Linked DNA regions of Homo sapiens: region 2 is linked to region 1. The links are contacts of gene promoters, found by promoter capture Hi-C in blood cells and fetal thymus (Javierre and others, 2016). All regions are on one chromosome and are shown on one strand. The core of a region is centred on a gene start or on the middle of the fragment in contact, and the rest is flanking DNA. Distances in the headings are between cores, read along the strand shown.

Evidence for each region. The method cuts DNA at HindIII sites, captures the fragments that hold promoters and counts their contacts. A CHiCAGO score of 5 or more calls a contact.
Region 2: a contact is called between a fragment that was not itself captured here and the fragment with the promoter of GPATCH8 in region 1, in 1 of 17 cell types (megakaryocytes). The highest score is 5.3, in megakaryocytes.

Annotation. Positions count from the first base shown.
Region 1 is chr17:44,501,838-44,506,137 of GRCh38, reverse strand. GPATCH8 (G-patch domain containing 8) reads left to right here and starts at 2,732. Exons shown (of 8, transcript NM_001002909.4): 1 at 2,732-2,812. The coding sequence starts at 2,768. RefSeq lists a silencer at 2,449-2,798 and an enhancer at 2,899-2,998. The HindIII fragment of the contact is 9,778 bases long and covers 1-3,546 here.
Region 2 is chr17:44,691,268-44,695,399 of GRCh38, reverse strand. No RefSeq gene overlaps it. Among named protein-coding and RNA genes, the nearest start is that of CCDC43, 3.6 kb to the right of the region's middle. The HindIII fragment of the contact is 1,042 bases long and covers 973-2,014 here.

The DNA of each region.
Region 1 (4,300 bases), core at 1,483-3,982:
ATGGTTTCTTCTGTTCCTTTCATTATCTCTGGTTCCTCTGAATTCGTTTTTTGGGGGAGGGGGGCTGTTGCTGTCATCATAGCTCACTGCAGCCTCCAAATCCTGGGCTTCAGCAATCCTCTTGCCTCAGCCTCCCAAGTAGCTGGGACCACAGGTGCATGCCACCACGCCTAGTTTTAAAGTTCTTTTGCAGAGTTGGGGTCTTACTACAATGCCCAGGCTGGGGGTGTTTCTATCTTTCCTGTTACAGGTTCCCTTCAAATGTCTGGCATTCTTTGGCTATCCATTCATAACAAGGCACTAAAAAGCTGAGTGAAAGGTCTGTGTGGATGGGGCTTCCTGAATGATGGACTTCTCTGTGGAGTATTTGGGCAGGAACATGATCTTTATGTAGGAAGACACCTCCCTACCCTCACTCCCATTGTTGGTACATGAAGCATTTTCTTCCCTAAGCTAGTCAATTTTCTAGAGAGGGTTCCTATGTTCTTTTGTTGGAGAAGTCAGACTCTCTGGCCAGAATGGAGGCTTTACCATATCCTCCCATTTTCAGCATGGTTGCTCCTTCTCACCTATAAAGTCCAGTCTCTCTGGTTCAGCCTTTCCAGAGGGAAAACCTCTAGTTTGCTACCTGGGTGGGAAAAGAGACATCGAATCATCAGTGGCACCAGGGGCTTCTACTTCCTGAGCCTTTCTGGTGCACTTTAGCATTGATCAACTTCTTTCCTGTCTTCTCCTACTCTATGACTTCTTTTTCTCCACTCTACTAAAGTCATTTCCATTTATCTGTGCTCTCTGGCCTCCAAAATGTTGACATCTGTTGTCTGCCATTGTCTCTTCTCCAGGTCTCTTTGTCCATGTGAATTTATGCACTTCTTATTCCTCTGCTGTCATTTCAGTGGGCTTTTGAGAGGAAGAAGAGGTCAGTGTGATGTGTATCCTCGTGATTCAATCTTTCACGCTACCCTTAAGTCTCTTTACAATGTTTGAGCCAGGCTCGGTGGCTCACGCCTGTAATCTCAGCACTTTGGGAGGCTGAGGCGGGCGGATCACAAGGTCAGGAGTTCCAGACCAGCCTTGCCAACATGGTGAACCCCGCCTCCACTAAAAATACAAAAAAAAAAAAAAAAAAAAAAGTCCGGGCGAGGTGGCTCACGCCTGTAATTCCAGCATTTTGGGAGGCCGAGGCAGGCGGATCACGAGGTCAGGAGATCGAGACCAGCCTGGCTAACACGGTGAAACCCCGTCTCTACTAAAAATACAAAAAATTAGCCGGGCTTGGTGGCGGGCGCCTGTAGTCCCAGCTACTCGGGAGGCTGAGGCAGGAGAATGGCGTGAACCCGGAAGGCGGAGCTTGCAGTGAGCCGAGATCGCGCCACTGCACTCCAGCCTGGGCGACAGAGTGAGACTCCTTTTCAAAAAAAAAAAAAAACAAATGAGCTGGGCTTAGTGGTGGGCGCCTGTAATCCCAGCTACTAGGGTGGCTGAGGCAGGAGAATCTCTTGAACCTGGGAGGCGGAGGTTGCAGTGAGCCGAGATTGCGCCACTGTACTCCGGCGACAGTGCGAGACTCCGTCTCAAAAAAAAAAAAAAAAAAAGAATACAATGTTTGAATTCTGTGTGCCCTGCCTCCCCTTAGATGGAAGCGTAGGCTGAAGCATGGGTGGGGCAAAGGGTAACAGCTAGAAAATACACACCCTTCCTCAAAAAATTACATTCCATTTGACTCTTTCAGGGCAGGGTAAGACCCATTTTTCCATTGTGTGATTTCTGTCAACTACTCTTTTCAAAAGGAGAGAAGTCCTGCCACCCTTCTATGTGTTTTATGTATTTTGGCTAAGAGTCCTGGAGCACTGGGTGAGGTCCTCAGAAGGGATGGAAAAATCCGATTCTTGACTCTCATAGTCAGCGCTAGGCAGGAGCATCAGAGATTACTGAATCCAATTTCCCTATTGTATAAAAAGGAAACTGAAGCCCAGAGAGCTTTAGTCGATCTGGATCAACTTCGGTCCCTTGTGAAATACTTCTCTCAAAGGATGGCTCGAAGTCAAGCTCCTTGCAGTCTTTGGGCCTTTGGGTCTAACGTTCCCTATGCCCCAATGCTGTAGGCTCCTCGCTGTGCCTCGGTCAAAGGTCCTTTCAGAGACTGTCCCTCTCAGCACTGTGGCCAGTTTTACTTTTTTGTGGCACTTGTTGATATTTAAAAATATTTATTTTACGAGTTATGTGAGTTCTTCCACTGGAATGAAATCCCCATAAGAGGAGATCATTCCTGTCTCGTTCACCGTTGAATCCTCAGGGTGAGCTGAGATTCGAAGCTAAGCAGTCTGGCTCTAAGGTCGCGCTTTCGGCCCAACATTATGCTGCTATTTAGTGAAGACGATGGACTTCTGCGCACACGGGGAAGCAACAGTGAGAAAAGACACCCGGAAGTGAGCAACAGCAAAACATCCAGATTTGTCCGCACGGTGCCCCCTCTGACCTTTCCCTCCGGAAGCTCTCGCGGCTCTCGGGCGGGAGTGCGCACGCGCGGCCACCGGGGTCGCTCCGGGTCGCGCGCGGAGCAGGGGCTAGAGGGAAGGGTCAGCCTCCAGGGCTGGCAGGCGCCTGCGCCGCGGGGCTCCCGTCAGGACGCGCATTCTCGCTCCCTCCCTCGGCTGCGCGCGCCCGGTGGGCGTGGGAGGAGGCGGGGAACCGGGGAGGGGTGGGTGTCGCAGGAGGGAAGGAGCGAACCGGAGAGCGTCGTCCTGAGAGGAGTGAAGGCGGCAAAATGGCGGACCGCTTCTCCCGCTTCAACGAAGACCGAGACTTTCAGGTAAACACGGGCGTCGCCGAGGATGCGGGGAAGGCGCTGGTCTAGCCCAGAACCTCCTTCATCTCCGGCTCCCAGCCCTCTTTCCTTCCAGTTTTGCTCCGACTTGCGAACCAGCTCGCTCTTCTCCCGTCTCTGCTTTCTCAAGAGGCCTCCCGGCTTGAGGGAGGCCGCATCTCCTCGCACCCGCATTCTCTTACCCCTGAAACTCAGGCCGCGGGGCTTGCGGCTTCCGCCTGTTTGGCATCGGATTTCGGAACCGGGCCTGAGCGCCGTGTGAGGGGCTGTGCCCTCCAGGTCTGCCCGATCTGTGCCGGCGAAGGGCTGGCTCCCAGGGGACAAGAGGGGTGGTTGGGTTGGGCTGAGAGGGCTTGGGGGAGAGTATTGCTGAGGCCAAGGCTTCCGAACCCCGGGATTTTGCTCTCACGGATCCTTTTGGGGTCCTTCTCTTTTCTTTCTTCACTGTGATAAATCAATTCCTTTCATTGTCTGCTTTTCCTCTTCCTTACCTGGGAAAAGGTTGCCTTCGCTATCAGACGCCTTATTGGTTAGTCATACATTGAGATTTCGCGGGGCATAAGTGTTGCTGTTATTAGGCTGTTAATTGGGCTTGGAAAGCAGTAAGTTACTGGACTATGATCCGATGTGAGCCTAACCTCAAATCCTATCTCGAAAGATTTGTGAGAAGCGTGATGATAATAGGCCGTCCACGCATGGGGTCACTAGTGCCAAAAGCTTGATTTTTCTTTCTTCAATTGCAAATGTTAGTATGGAAAAATGCCCTTACGATGGCAAGCTCTATTGAGTAAAAAATAAAGGCCAAATTAGAATAACTTGTTTTTTCGCTGTTGAAAATACCTTTCTGTTGAAATTGTTACCGCGGAAATCTCGAAGACTAAAAGGGATTTAGTAGAGATTGGCTATTTCTAGGTAAAATACATCCGTAGAGTCTCAAAAAAAAAAAAAAAACACTGCATTACTACCGCATATCCTGGCAACTGCAATTTGGGTCGGGATGAATCTCAGAACTCAAGTTTTTATCCCGCTGCAGATCCTACTCAAAGCAGTACGAAAGCACTCTAGATGTGTTTCAGAAGGCAGTTTAAAGAGTTTGAATTCCCTGAGATGATAGGATTGGTAAATAAATAGGTAAAGCAGTTTAACAATTTTAACTCAGCACTGTTAACAGTCTAGTACATAGAACGCTTATGAGAAGTTTTGCAGCAGTAAGGGATCTGGGGGCTGTTAAAAAGCCTTGTGATCATGCGCCTGCTGTATAGCTGCAGCACAATACAGGAGAGTCTCAGGATGTTCTAAGGATATAATGCAGATTCACCAAAGTTTGAAGCAGTTCATGTTAGCCTTTTGATCCCTGAGAAATATATATATATACACACATATATATATATTAGCAAGCACTATAAAATATGAGTTGGCTGCAAGGTGTATGAGCTTTATTGATTTTTAAATTACCGGTAGAGACATACTGAT
Region 2 (4,132 bases), core at 244-2,743, 190 kb before region 1:
GCCTCCCAAAGTGCTGGGATTACAGGCATGAGCGACTGCGCCCGGCCCAACATGGGTAAATATTTTAAACAACCTTGAGTGAAAAAGCACATTGCAGAATGAAAAGTACAGCATGCACACCAATGTGATATATTATGGATACATCCATATGTTGTAATATGTATTATATATGTAGCAATGTGTACTATGTTTAAAAACATTCAAGAAGAAAATAAACACCAAATTCAGGAATAGTGGTTACATCTGGGGAGAGAGGGGAGAAAATGAGGTTGGAGAAAGGGCTTCAAATTTGCTTTCTTTTACAAAAAGATACAAAGTAAATAAATATAACAGTTCAAAACCAGTCTCCTTCAGTTCTCCTCCTCAGTGGACAACCATTCTCACATATCCCTGGTGTATCTTTCCAGAGATAGCCTATGCACATACAAGGACACATATGTACATGTATTCCCCTACCCTAACTTCTTTTTAAATAGTGATGGTGGCAAGCATTACATATTGTTGATCTGTACTTTTTAAACAATGTATCTCGAACTTTGATACATGTCAGTGCATAAAGAGCTTCTTTGTTCTTTTTTTTTTTTTTTTTTCGAGACGGAGTCTTGCTCTGTAGCCCAGGCTGGAGAGCAATGGCATGATCTCCTCTCACTGCAACCTCTGCCTCCTGGATTCAAGCGATTCTCCTGCCTCAGCCTCCCGAGTAGCTGGGATTACAGGTGCTTACCACCATGCCCAGCTAATTTTTGTATTTTTAGTTGGCCAGGCTGGTCTCGAACTCTTGACCTCAGGTGATCCACCTGCTTTGGCCTCCCAAAGTGCTGGGACTACAGGCACCAGCCACCGCGCCCGGCCTCTTTGTTCATTTTTTTTTTTTTTTTTACAGCTGTGCAATACTTCTTTGTGTGGCTACCAGAGTTTTTGAACCAGTCTCATATACATAAAATGTAGACTATTCTTTTACTACAAAAAGCTTCACTACAATGAATATCCTTAGAAAAATGTGATTCTACACAAATGCACAGTTTTATTTTTTAAAGACAGAGTTTTGTTCTGTTGTTCAGGCTAGAATGCAGTGGCATCATCATAGCTCATGTAAATTTGAGCTCCTGGGCTCAAGTGATCCTCTTGCCTCAACCTCCTGAGTAGGTAGGACAAAAGACATGCACCACCACTTTTTTTTTTTGTAGAGCTGGGGTCTCATTATGTTGACCAGGTTAGTCTCGAACTCCTGGCCTCAAGCAATCCTCCCTTGTCAGCCTCCCAAAGTACTGGGATTACAGGTGTAAGCCAGTGTGCCTGGCCATTATACAAAATATTAAATCAAAATTTTTTTCTTTTTTTGAGACAGAGTCTCACTCTGTTGCCCAGGCTGGAATGCAGTGGCATTATCTCAACTCACTGCAACCTCCGTGTCCCGAATTCGAGTGAATCTCCTGCCTCAGCTTCTCAAGTGGCCAAGTAGCTGGGACTATAGGCATGCATTACCACACCTGGCTAATTTTTATATTTTTAGTAGAGACAGGGTTTTGCCATGTTGGCTAGACTGGTCTTGAACTCCTGACCTCAGTGATCCACCCACCTTGGCCTCCCTAAGTGCGGGGATTACAGGCGTGAGCCACCGCGCCCAGCCAACCACGCCCAGTTTAAACCACGCCCAGTTTAAACAGGCACCACGCCCAGTTTAAACCAAAAATTTTAAAAATAATTAATACTTAACACTATTAAATCGTATACTTAAAAATAGTTAAGATGGCAAATTGTGTATTTTACCACAAGTAAAGATAAAAATAAATGAATAACTTATGAACAAATTCCCAGAAGCAGAAATGCTGGGTCTTTTCAAACAAACAGTCCTCCAACAAGACCAGATCCATTTACTTTCTGCTCTAACATTTTCCAATGTCTTTTACCCAAGCACAGTTCAATACAGCATATTATCAGACTTTTTTGATCTGAAAAGCGGACGTGGTATTTCACTGCAATCTTAATTTGCGTATTTTATTTTTTGTAAGCTTTCAATTTGTCGCTTATCCATTTATATAATTTTTTCTTTTTTTTTGTTGAGACAGAGTTTTGCCCTTGTTGCCCAGGTTGGAGTACAATGGCGTAATCTCAGCTCACTGTAACCTCCGCCTCCTGGTTTCAAGCAATTCTCCTGCCTCAGCCTCCCAAGTAACTGGGATTACATGCGCCTACCACCATAGCTGGCTAATTTTTTTGTTTTTTTTGTTTTTTTTTGAGATGGAGTCTCACTCTGTTGCCCAGGCTGGAGAGCAGTGGTCAGATCTCGGCTCACTGCAAGCTCTGCCTCCCGGATTCGCGCCATTCTCCTGCTTCAGCCTCCCTAGTAGCTGGGACTATAGGCGCCCGCAACCACACCCAGTTAATTTTTTTTTGTATTTTTAGTAGAGACGGGGTTTCACCTATTATCCAGGATGGTCTCGATCTCCTGACCTCGTGATCTGCCCGCCTCGGCCTCCCAAAGTGCTGGGATTACAGGTGTGAGCCACCGCGCAGGGCCATTTTTTTGTATTTTTTTAGTAGAGATGGGGTTTCACCAGTTGGCCAGGCTGGTCTCGAACTCCCGACCTCAGTTGATCTACCCGCGTTGGCCTTCCAAAGTGCTGGGATTACAGGCGTGAGCCACCGTGCTTGGCCTTATATAATATTTTTTAAAGCATGAGCTATGTTACTTTTGTAGTAAAATAGCCATTGAGGATATTCTTAAAATTTAGGGTCTGGAGAACCTTGATTCAGTTTTTGAGAAGCTTGTTGATGCTTTCAAAAAACCTTATTGCATTATGGCCAGGAGCAGTGTCTCATGCCTGTAATCCCAGCGCTTTGGGATGCCGAAGCAGGTGCATCACCTGAGATCAGCAGTTTGAGACCAGCTTGGCCAACATGGCAAAACCCTATCTCTACTAAAAATAGGAAAAAAATTAGCCGGGTGTGGTGCTGGGTGCCTGTAATCCCAGCTACATGGAAGGGTGAGGCAGGAGAATTGCTTGAACCCAGGAGACGGAGGTTGTAGTGAGCTGAGATCATACCACTGCACTCCAGTCTGGACGACAACCGTGAGACTCCACCTCAAAACAAAAACCAAAAAAACCTTATTGCATAATACCTATATCAATTTCCTGATTTACTATTATACTGTCTTTATGTTTGATGTTACTATTGGGGGAAACTGGGTGAAGGTGTGCAGGACTCTATGTACTATTTTTGAAACTTCTTGTGAGGCTGTATTTCTAAAAAACAAAATTTTGTGATGTTTTTCTGGTTTGGGGGCTCTGCACTGACCAGCTATCATCCTTGAGCCATGATGGCACCCAGGTCTGTGAACTGACAAGCCCTACCTGCAAGACAGCTACTAGATTAGAAAGAATAACTGAGGACTTGAAAAAGAGGCAAGCCTTTGGAGGCTGACTCTGGCCTCTGACTCTGTTAGTGTCACATTCTATCTAACTCAGCGAGCACACAGAAGCCACGCAACTAAAATTCACACTCTGCCATATTTCTTACATTTGTATCTGTGCCATTCATTTAGTGTCCATTCATTTACATAATCCCAATGCCACTAAGGGTAGACCTCTGCAATAAGAGGACCTCTGCAAGGTATACAAACTCCTTTCCTTCTTTTTTTGTTGTTATCCCCTGAATATCTTCTATTTGAATCCTGTAGCTCAAGCCATACATGACTCTCTGGAGGCCCCCTAGCAAGCCTTTGAATTCACAGTTCCCCTGCATCTGGATCTACCCCCTTTTTCCCTCCAGTCCCTTTATGTAAAGAACTCCTACCATTCTTCAAGAAAGTTCAAGCATCATCTCCACTGGGAAGCCTTCCTGGATTTCCTATGAACCTCTCCCCACCTGCTTCCAACTCCACTCCAACAGGTAAAGTTAACTCAATCTTCTAGGCATCCTACTGCAATCTCCGCTAGATAAAGCTCCATTAAAACATTTATATCACTATATTGTCATCATTTGTTTAAACATGTCTGTTCCTAATGGATTAAAAACCCCTGAGGACATATATTTTGTGACATTCATTTTTGTGTTTTCAGTGCCAGCAACAATGCCATACTGAAGGTACTCAGTACATATTTGAGGAAGGAGTTAGCCAGGACCTTGC